Linked DNA regions of Homo sapiens: region 1 is linked to region 2. The links are contacts of gene promoters, found by promoter capture Hi-C in blood cells and fetal thymus (Javierre and others, 2016). All regions are on one chromosome and are shown on one strand. Each heading gives the region's core, a stretch centred on a gene start or on the middle of the fragment in contact. The rest is flanking DNA. Distances are from core to core; before and after follow the strand shown.

What was found. Contacts are between HindIII fragments. The CHiCAGO score rates a contact against its expected background, and 5 or more counts as called.
Region 1: a fragment that was not itself captured here is called in contact with the fragment with the promoter of GJA9 in region 2 in 2 of 17 cell types (total CD8 T cells and naive CD4 T cells); the score reaches 5.8 in total CD8 T cells.

The regions. Positions count from the first base shown.
Region 1 is chr1:39,017,414-39,023,372 of GRCh38, forward strand. No RefSeq gene overlaps it. Among named protein-coding and RNA genes, the nearest start is that of NDUFS5, 6.0 kb to the right of the region's middle. RefSeq lists enhancers at 1-460, 118-287, 2,819-2,988. The HindIII fragment of the contact is 6,004 bases long and covers 1-4,766 here.
Region 2 is chr1:38,878,590-38,884,014 of GRCh38, forward strand. GJA9 (gap junction protein alpha 9) reads right to left here and starts at 2,998. Exons shown (of 2, transcript NM_030772.5): 1 at 2,843-2,998. It overlaps GJA9-MYCBP (GJA9-MYCBP readthrough), which reads right to left and starts at 3,037. Exons shown (of 3, transcript NR_037637.1): 1 at 2,843-3,037. RefSeq lists a silencer at 1,038-1,222. The HindIII fragment of the contact is 5,576 bases long and covers 2,715-5,425 here.

The DNA.
Region 1 (5,959 bases), core at 515-3,014, 140 kb after region 2:
CGCCAGGGAGACAGTGGGAAGGTAGCAGCAAGTGGGTGGGATCATTCCAGGCGAAGAAACTGCTCCAACGAGCTTGGAGCGTGAAAGCAATTGTGGATGGCTGAGAACACGAGTTTGAGTGGGGGCAGTAAGCAATGGGATCTGAGGATTTAGAAATGGGTGAATGATCTTGAATGCCAAACCCAAGAATTTTTACCTTTTCTTGAAGCATTGACACACAGCCAGGGCAGAATGAATGGCTCCCTTCTTTGTGTTTCATTCATCTTTCTGTAACAGAAGATCACTGGCTACAACATTTTGATTGTTTCTTCATCCCAAGAACCCAAGGGCCATGGAAGTGTTGCTGTTTTCATAAGTTATTAGGGTACAGGTGGTATTTGGTTACATGAGTAAGTTCTTTAGTGGTGATTTGTGAGATTTTGATGCACCCATCACCCAAGCAGTATACACCGTACCCTATTTGTAGTCTTTTATCCCTCGCCCCCCTCCCGCCCTTTCCTCCAGGTCCCCAAAATCCACTGTATCATCCTTAAGCCTTCGCGTCCTCATAGCTTAGCTCGCACATATCAGTGAGAACATACGATGTTTGATTTTCCATTCCTGAGTTACTTCACTTAGAATATTAGTCTCCAATCTCATCCAGGTCACTGCAAATGCCATTAATTCATTCCTTTTTATGGCTGAGTAGTATTCCATCGTATATATATATACACCACAGATTCTTTTTTTTTTTTCTTTGAGACGGGAGTCTTGCTCTGTTGCCCAGGCTGGAGTGCAGTGGTGTGATCTCAGCTCACTGCAACCTCTAAGCCTCCTGGGTTCAAGCGATTCTCCTGCCTCAGCCTCCTGAGTAGCTGGGATTACAGGCACATGCCACCACGCCCGGCTAATTTTTCATATTTTTAGTAGAGACGGGGTTTCACCGTGTTAGCCAGGGTGGTCTCCATCTCCTGAACTCATGATCCGCCCACCTTGGCCTCCCAAAGTGCTGGGATTACAGGCATGAGCCACTGCGCCCGGACCACAGTTTCTTTATCCACTCGTTGATTGATGGGCATTTGGGTTGGTTCCACATTTTTGCAACTGAGAATTGTGCTGCTATAAACATGTGTGTACAAGTATCTTTTTCGTATAATGACTTCTTTTCCTCTGGATAGATACCCAGTAGTGAGACTGCTGGATCAAATGGTAGTTCTACTTTTAATTCTTTAAGGAATCTCCACATAGTTTTCCATAGTGGCTGTACTAGTTTACATGCCCACCAGCAGTGTAGAATTGTTCCCTGATCACTGCATCCATGCCAACATCTACTGCTTTTTTATTTTATTTATTTTTTTAGAGACAAGAGTCTTGCACTATCCCCCAGGCTGGAGTGCAGTGGCGTGACCTTGGCTCACTGCAACCTCCAACTCCCAGGTTTAAGCGATTCTCATGCTTTAGCTTCCCGAGTAGCTGGGATTACAGGCGCCTGCCACCACGCATAGCTAATTTTTGTACTTTTAGTAGAGACAGGCTTTCATCACGTTGGCCAGGCTGGTCTCAAACTCCTGGCCTCAGGTGATCTGCCTGCCTTGGCCTCCCAAAGTGCTGGGATTACAGGCATGAGCCACCATGCCTGTTTTTTGATTTATTTATTTATTTATTTATTTATTTATTTATTTATTTATTTATTTTTTGAGACGGAGTCTGCCTGTGTAGCCCAGGCTGGAGTGCAGTGGCGCGACTCGGCTCACTGCAAGCTCCGCCTCCCGGGTTGACACCATTCTCCTGCCTCAGCCTCCCCTGTAGCTGTGATTACAGGCGCCCGCCATCACGCCCGGCTAATTTTTTGTATTTTTAGTAGCGACGGGGTTTCACCGTGTTAGCCAGGATGGCCTTGATTTCCTGACCTCGTGATCCACCCGCTTCCGCCTCCCAAAGTGCTGGGATTACAGGCATGAGCCACCGCGCCCGGCCTTTTTTGATTTTTTTACTGCGGCCATTCTTGCAGCAGTATAATGGTATCGCATTGTGGTTTTGATTTGCATTTCCCTGATCATTAGTGATGTTGAGCTTTTTTAAATATGTTTGTTGGTCATTTGTATATCTTCTTTTGAGAATTGTGTATTCATGTCCTTAGCCCACTTTTTGATGGGATTTTTTTTTCTTACTGATTTGTTTGAGTTTGTTTTTGTTATAGATTCTGGATATTAATCCTTTGTCAGATATAGATTGTGAAGATTTTCTCTCACTCTGTGGGTTGTCTGTTTACTCTGCTGGCTGTTACTTTTGCCATGCAAAATCTCTTTAGTTTAATTAAGTCCCAACTATTTGTCTTTGTTTTTATTGCATTTGCTTTTGGCTTCTTCGTCATGAAATTCTTGCCTAAGCCAATGTCTAAGTTATTTTCTAGACTTTTTATAGTTTCAGGTCTTAGATTTAAGTCCTTAATCCATCTTGAGTTGATTTTTATTTAAGGTGAGAGATGAGGATCCAGTTTCATTCTCCTACACATGGCTAGCCAATTGTCCAGGCACCATTTGTTGAAAAGGTGTCCTTTCCTCACTTTATGTTTTTGTTTGCTTTGTCAAAGATCAGTTGGGTGTAAATATTTGGGTTTATTTCTGGGTTCTCTATTCTGTTCCATTGGTCTATGTGCCTATTTATTTATTTTATTATTATTATTATTATTATTATTATTATTTTGAGATGGAGTCTCGCTCCTGTCGAGCAGGCTGGAGTGCAGTGGCGTGATCTTGGCTCGCTGCAACCTCCACCTTCCAGGTTCAAGCAATTCTCCTTCCTCAGCCTCTTGAGTAGCTGGGATTACAGGTGTGCACCACCACGCCGGGCTAATTTTTTTATTTTTAGTAGAGATGGGGTTTGGCCATGTTGGCCAGGCTGGTCTCAAACTCCTGACCTCAGGTGATCCGCCTGTCTCAGCCTCCCAAAGTGCTAGGATTACAGGTGTGAGCCACTGCACCCGGCCTATGTGCCTATTTTTATATCAGTACTATGCTGTTTTGTGACTATGGCCTTATAGTATAGTTTAAAATCAGGTAATGTGATGCCTCCAGATTTGTTCTTTTTGCTTAGCCTTGCTTTGGCTATGCAAGCTCTTTTTTGGTTCCATATAAATTTTATAATTTTTTTTTTTAGAATTGTTTTTTCTAATTCTGTGAAGAATGGTGGTGGTATTTTGATGGGGATTGCGTTGAATTTGTAGATTGCTTTTGGCAGTATGGTCATTTTCACAATATTGATTTCTACCCATCCATGAACATGGGATGTGTTTCCATTTGTTTGTGTCATCTATCATTTCTTTCAGCAGTGTTTTGTAATTTTCCTTGTAGAGGTCTTTTGCCTCCTTGGTTAGGTATATTCCTAAATATTTTATTTTATTTTTTGCAGCTATTGTAAAAGGTGTTGAGTTTTTTTTGTTTGTTTTTGTGGTTTTTTGTCTTTGTTTTGTTTTTGTTTGTTTTGAGACAGAGTCCCACTCCATTGCCCAGGCTGGAGTGCAATGGCGTGATCTTGACTTGCTGCAATTTCCGCCTCCCAGGTTCAAGTGATTCTCCTGCCTCAGCCTCCCAAGTATTTGGGATTACAGGCACCTGCCACCATGCCCAGCAAATTTTTATATTTTTAGTAGAGACGGGGCTTCACCAAGTTGGCCAGGCTGGTTTCAAACTCCTGACCTCAGGTGATCCACCCACCTTGCCTTCCCAAAGTGTTGGGATTACAGGTGTGAGCCACCACACCCAGCCTCCCTCCCTCCCTCCCTCCCTCCCTTCCTTCCTTCCTTCCTTCCTTCCCTCCCTCCCTCCCTCCCTCCTTCCTTCCATTCTCTCTGTCTCTCTGTCTCTCTCTCTTTTTGACAGGGTCTTGCTCTGTCACCCAGACTGGAGTTCAGTAGCTCAATCATGGCTTACTGCAGCCTGGAGTTCAGTAGCTCAATCATGGCTCACTGCAGCCTCAACCTTTTGGGCTCAAGTGATCCTCCTGCCTCAGCCTCCTGAGTAGCTGGGACTACAAGCAACACACCACCATGCCCAGCTAATTTTTTTTTAATTTTTTTTGTTGTTGTTGTATTGACAAGATCTCACTATGTTGCTCAGGCTGGTCTCGAACTCCTGGGCTCAAGCAATCCACTTCAGTCTCCTAAAGTGCTGGGATTACAGGCATGAGCCATCATGCTTAACCCTGCATGGTATTTCTGAGGAATGATATGATGAAATCTGTATTTTAGGATGACCAGTCATGCAGAACAGATTGGAGTGAGGAGTTGGGAGACAAGAAGGAAGAGATAAATTGGAAATTTGTTGAAGGAATATTTGACAGAACTTGTGCTGTAATTAAATACTAAATGAAAGAAAAGGAAAAGGCAGAATACAACTCCAGAGTTTGCTGCCTAAGTGGCTGGGAAGATGACACCATCAACAAACAAGAAAAGGGGCAGGGGACTGGAAAAGGTAGTGATAACTCGCCACTAGCACTTTGTGGGCAAGGGCCATGAGTTACCAGTTATATAATCCTGCAGTATTCAGCTGGACATACAAGAGGTCTTCACAAAGTTTATGAAAAATGTGTATTATGAAAAAACTATGCATAGATTTCAAAAAATTTTTGCACCAAAATAAATTTGTACTAACTTGTTATAACATGTCTGAGCAGGATCTACTTTGAGGCACTATGAAGGATAAGACATTAGTTTGAAAAGAGCCCCTATAAGAGTAACATGAATTCTGCTAAAATTGAAGCAAGAACAAATATCAAGTTTATGGTTAAGCTTGGGTGGAAGAATGGTGAGATCATTGAAGCTTTACGAAAAGCTTATGGGGACAATGCCTCAAAGAAATCAGCAGTTTACAAATAGATAAATTGTTTTTTGTTGTTGTTTTTTGAGAGGGAGTCTCACTCTGTCACCCAGGCTGGAGTGCAGTGGCATGATCTAGGCTCGCTGCAGCCTCTGCCTCCCACGTTCCAGTGATTCTCCTGCCTCAGCCTCCCTGGGTAGCTGGGATTACAGGCGCCTGCCACCACGCCCGGCTAATTTTTGTATTTTTAGTAGAGATGGGGTTTTGCCATGTTGGCCAGGCTGGTCTTGAACTCCTGACCTCAGGTGATACACCTGCCTCGGCCTCCCAAAGTGCTGGGATTACAAGCATGAGCCACCGCACGTGGCCAGATAATTTGTTTTAAGAAGGGATGAGATTAGGCCGGGCTGTGCCTCTACTACAGACTCCTAGTATTTATTTTCTTTAAGAATACTTGGCCAGGCGTGGTGGCTCATGCCTGTAATCTCAGCACTTTGAGATGCTGAGGCAGGCGAATCACCTGAGGTCAGGAGTTCAAGACCAGCCTGGCCAACATGGTGAAACCCCGTCTCCACCAAAAATACAAAAATTAGCTGGGCATTGTGGTGGGCTCTTATAATCCCAGCTACCTGGGAAGGCTGAGGCAGGAGAACTGCTTGAACCCAAGAGGCGGAGGTTGCAGTGAGCCGAGACCACGCCATTGCACTCCAGCCTGGGCGACAGAGCAAGACTCCATCTCCAAAAAGAAACAAAATAAAGAAGGGATGAAATGATGTTGAAGATGAAACCCACAGTGGCAGACCATCCACATCAATTTATGAGAAAAACATTTTGTGTCCTAACTGAAGTGGATTGACAACAGCAGAAATAATAATCAATACCATAGGCATCTCACTTGGTTCGGCTTACATAATTCTGACTGAAAAACTAAAGTTGAGCAAACATTCCACTTGGCAGGTGCCAAACCATCATGCCCAGATCAGCTGCAGAGCTTTCAATGGGAATTTTAAACAAGCAGGATGAAGATCCTGAAGCATTTCTTTGAAGAATTGTAATAGGAGATGAAACATGGCTTTACCAGTACAATCCTAAAGACAATGCACAATCAAAGCAATGGCTACCAAGAGGTGGAAGTGTCTGGTCAAAGCAAAAGTGGACCAGTC
Region 2 (5,425 bases), core at 1,748-4,247:
TCACTTGAACCTGGGAGGCAGAGGTTGCGGTGAGCCAAGATCGCGCCATTGCACTCCAGCCTTGGCGACAAGAGCAGAAACTCTGTCTCAGAAAACAAAAAGAACTCCAAAAATTCTCAACTATTTTATGGTACCAGAATCTTTTTTTTTTTTTTTTTTTTGAGACGAAGTTTCCCTCTTGTTGCCCAGGCTGGAGTGCAATGGCACAATCTCGGCTCACCGCAACCTCCACCTCCCAGGTTCAAGTGATTCTCCTGCCCCAGGCTCCAGAGTAGCTGGTATTACAGACATGCGCCACCATGCCCAGCTAATTTTGTATTTTTAGTAGAGATGGGGTTCCTCCATATTGGTCAGGCTAGTTTCGAACTCCCAACCTCAGGTGATCCACCTGCCTCGGCCTCCCAAAGTGCTGGGATTACAGGCGTGAGCCACTGCGCCCGGCCTTATGGTACCAGAATCTCATTATAGATATTACTTGCAATAGATTGTTCACTGGTATGGTGGCAGTATTATGGAAACTTTCACTGTAGCAGTATTTGACCTATTTAAGACATATAGCTGCTCTCTTGAAGGAAGCAGTGGGGCAAGTTATAATTTAGCTGCTTGGATTATTTGCCGGCAGATTGCATATTAAGGTTGGTATCCCAGGTTATCTCAGAGGAAATATACCCCAAAGGAAAGATTTTAAAAGTGAATATTTTCATTATTTTTCATTTAAAATATAAATGTATGTCCTGTCCCCTTTATATAAAGGGAACTGTTACACAATCAAACAAACTACTAAGATACAAGATGTGTTCATCACTAAAATCCTATGCGGTAAGTATGTTGTTTCCCCCATCTTACAGATGAGGAAACGGAAGCACACCTTAATTTACCTGAGGTCACACAGCTGGAGCTGGCATTCAAACCCAATCATTGTGGCTTTAGAGTCAGCTCCTTAAATTTTTTACTAAACTATTATTTTTCCTCTGTAAGCAAACTTCAAATTTGCCGGAAAGAAACATTAAGAGATTATCTGTTTTCTCTTAAGTTTAATCATTTAAATTTAGGAATGTAAAATAGTGATAGCTTTGGCTTTTTAAATAACTAGTTCTAGAGTCTTTAGTTCCTTTCTTCAGCCTTTGTTCTGTTTTTTTTGTTCGTTTGTTTTCTGAGACGGAGTCTCGCCCTGTCGCCCAGGCTGGGGTGCAGTGGCGCGATCTCGGCTCACTGCAAGCTCCGCCTCCCGGGTTCACGCCATTCTCCTGCCTCAGCCTCTCCGGGTAGCTGGGACTACAGGCGCCTGCCACCACGCCCGGCTAATTTTTTTGTTATTTTTAGTAGAGACGGGGTTTCACCGTGATCTCGATCTCCTGACCTCGTGATCCTCCCGCCTCGGCCTCCCAAAGTGCTGGGATTACAAGCGTGAGCCACCGCGCCCGGCTCTGTTAATACGATTTGCAAAAGCATCAACCTTCTAAAATATAGTTGTATTCCTGAAATAGAGAAACTTTCCATTGACTTTATTATGTTAATAATAGCATACTCTGGCCGGGCACGGTGGCTCACGCCTGTAATCCCAATACTTTAGGAGGCCGAGGCCAGCGGATCACTTGAGGTCAGGAGTTTGAGACCAGCCTGGCCAACATGGTTGAAACCCTTGCTCTACTAAAAATACAAAAATTAGTCGGGCGTGGTGGCGGGCGCCTGTAGTCCCAGCTACTCGGGAGGCTGAGGCAGAAGAATCACTTGAACCCAGAGGCAGAGGTTGCAGTGAGCCGAGATCACACCATTGCACTCCAGCCTGGGCGACAGAGCAAGACTCTGTCTCAAAAAAAAATAAATAATAATAATAATAATAATAATAATAATAATAATAATAGCATACTCTGACCCAACAACCCAAAGCACTTTAAAATGTAAGCAAGTTGGCCAGGCGCGGTGGCTCACGCCTGTAATCCCAGCACTTTGGGAGGCACAGGCGGGCGGATTACGAGGTCAGGAGTTCGAGACCAGCCTGAGCAACATGGTTGAACCCCATCTCTACTAAAAATACAAAAATTAGCCGGGCATGGTGGCACATGCCTGTAATCCCAGCTACTCAGGAGACTGAGGCAGGAGAATCGCTTGAACCTGGGAGGTGAAGGTTGCAGTGAGCCGAGATCTGGCCACTGCATTCCAGCCTGGGCAATAGAGTGAGACTCTGTCTCAAAAAATAAAAAAAAAGTAAGCAAGTTAAGTCTCATTTATGGTTCATAAATAATAATAATGTAAGCAAAGATGTAATTCATGTTGTTTATAATAGTCATAAGCTAAAAACATAAAATAATAATACAAGAAAAACTGGTTAAATAATCGACTACATCCACGGTGTGATACTATGCAACCAGTAGAAATGATAAACATACATAAAATGGCATTTGATATTTCATTTCAGTGAAATTGATGTTATAAAATAGAATAATATGGCCCCATTATTATAAGTTTAGTTACATTTACAGATGTATACAAAAAAGTCTAGAAGGATATTCATGAAAATATTAACGGTGATTAGCTCTGGATGTTGGGATTACAAATTATATACTTAATATATTGTAATTACATGTATTTTAATTTTTTACTATAAGCATTTTACTTTTATAATCATAAAAAGAAAGAAAATATTTTTTTCATAAAGGACAACACATAGTATTTCCTGAAAGAAGGAGCAGTAGTATTTAGCTACAAATTAAAGCTTTCATAGCAAATGACATAAAAACTGGTATACATATATACAGTACCATAGAATTCAAAAGAAAAAGATAAAAACATTTCAAACAACTCTTTCTTAATAAGCTAAAACAGAGAGATTAACACAAACCTTTCTTAGTTTAGGTAAATCTGAGAAGCAAACCATGTTTAGAAGTTACAGCATGGCCATCTTCAATTTATTTTCTGAATTTGTCCCTTTGCTGGTATAGAGCAGATTCAGTTCAGTTGAATGTAGTGAGTGAGTCATCCATCAACTAAAATCCATGTCCCTTTCTGCTTATCCTTGCTTTTAAAACAGCACCATCCAATAGAACTTTCTGCAACAATGGAAATATTCTATCTGTGCTAGCCAATAAGGCAGCCAGTAGCCAAATGTAGCTATTGAACACTTGCATTATGGTTTGTGTGTCAGAGCAATTGAATTTTTAATTTTAAATAATTTTAATAAAAATGTAAAGAGCTGCATCTACCTAATGGCTGCTTTTTTGGACAGCACAGATAAAGAATGCTTATAATAGTCCTGATAACACACTGCAATCTAGAAGACTAAAGTCATGAGCCCCAAATTAAGCTGAGTGAATGATTCCTCCATAATTCAGAGATGTCAAATTTAAAATGACAGGAGGTATTTGTGTGCTGTTTGTATGCAACTTTTGCCACTGGGGGAACCTAATAAAATGTCATTGTTTTTTGTGCAATAAACCATGTTTCTAGAACCAAAAAAGTCTTTCTTACTAGATAATAACTTCTTGGTCATCTGCCTTAATAAATGGGTCATGTCCGATTTCATAGATAGATCCTGATTCTGTCTCCCATGTTCTGTTATTAACAATTACATTGTATTTTAGGTCATTAAAGGTCCCTTCAGAGCTAGTGATCTGGCAGGTTGAGCATAACAGATAAATACTTCTTCCCTGGGCTTTTTTGCCAACAATAGCTACTTCTCAGATTAAATACAAACATTTCACCAGGGACAAATATATATATATATATATATATATATATATATATATATATATATATATATATTTACATATATATTTTTATATATATATTATTTATATATATATATATTTGTATAGGCACACATACATGCACAATATATTCATGTTTCTATATTATGTGTTATCTGAATTACATATGTGTAACTCATAAATTATTAATAAACTCGAAACTTCCTCAACCTCGGTAGTCAGAGAATACATATTTAAGTGAAATATTATTTTTTAACTATCAAAATGCAAAATTTTAAAGATTTATAATACCTTCTTTTGGCAAAGTAGGGAGACACTGTTACTCTCATATCCTGTAGGTAAGAATATAAATGGATACAGCTATTTAAAAGGCAGTTTAAACCTATCAATATTAGTATAGCATTTCTGCTTTTGGATACTTGAAATATTCATTCAGCATAGACATTCAGAGACACACTGCACATGCTAGGATGTTCACATAGCACTGTTGGTAATTATACAAAAGCAGCAATAATTTAAATGTCTGACAGAGGAATGGTTATCTATGGTACATCTATATCATTCAGCAATTCAGAGAATAAAGATTTCTATGAACTAATAGAGAAAGGTCCCTAGGTCATGTTGTAAAGCAAGTTATAGAACAATACATGTATCACATTTATCCTGTTAAAACCTACATTTCATAAAAATATCTAATTAGAGGCTGGGCTCATGTCTATAATCCTAGCACTTTGGGAGGAGGCTGAGACAGGCGGATCACCTGAAGTCAGGAGTTCAAGACCAGCCTGGCCAATGTGGTGAAACCCAGTCTCTATTAAAAATACCAAAAATTAGCCAGGCATGGTGGCACATGCCTATAATCCCAGCTACCCGGGAGGCTGAGGCAGGAGAATTGCTTGAACCCAGGAGGCAGAGGTTGCAGTGAGCCGAGATGGCGCCACTGCACTCCAGCCTGGGCGACACAGCAAGACCCTGTCTCAAGAAAAAAAAAAATATATATATACACACACACACACACACACACACACACACACACACACACACATATATATTTAGCTAAAATCGATTAACAAAAACTTTTCCTAGTTGAGATCAATCTGAGAAGCAAATGATGCTTAGGAGGAGTTATACCATGGACACCTCTAATTTGTTCTTCAGATTTGTCCCTTTGAGGGTGTAGAGCAGATTCAGTGAAGTTCAATACAGTGGATGAGTTGGACATTAACTTAAATCCATTTTCCTTTCTGCTCATCCTACATAGAAAAATGTCTGCAAGGATACAGACCATACTGTTGTGACCACTGATGATGGTCAGCACTAGGGAAAAACAGCAGGTTTGAAGTGAGAAGGCAAAAGGAGATTTTTTTTTTTTTTAAGACAGGGTCTCACTCTGTCACCCAGGCTGGAGGGCAGTGGCATGATCATAGCTCACTGTAACCTCGAACTCCTGGGTTCCAGTGATCCTCCCACCTCAGCCTCTGGAGTAGCTAGAACTACAGGCAAGCACCACCACACCTGGTTATTTTTTATGTTTTTGTAGAGTTCTTGAATGTTACCCAGGCTGTTCTCAAACTCCTGGGCTCAAGCAGTCCTCCCACATTGGCCTCCCAAAGTGCTGAGATTATAGGCATGAGCCACTGCACCTGGCTGAGATTTTATCTTTTAACTTCTTGTTTGAATCTTTGTTTAACCAAGAACACACTCATAAGGCCAGGCAT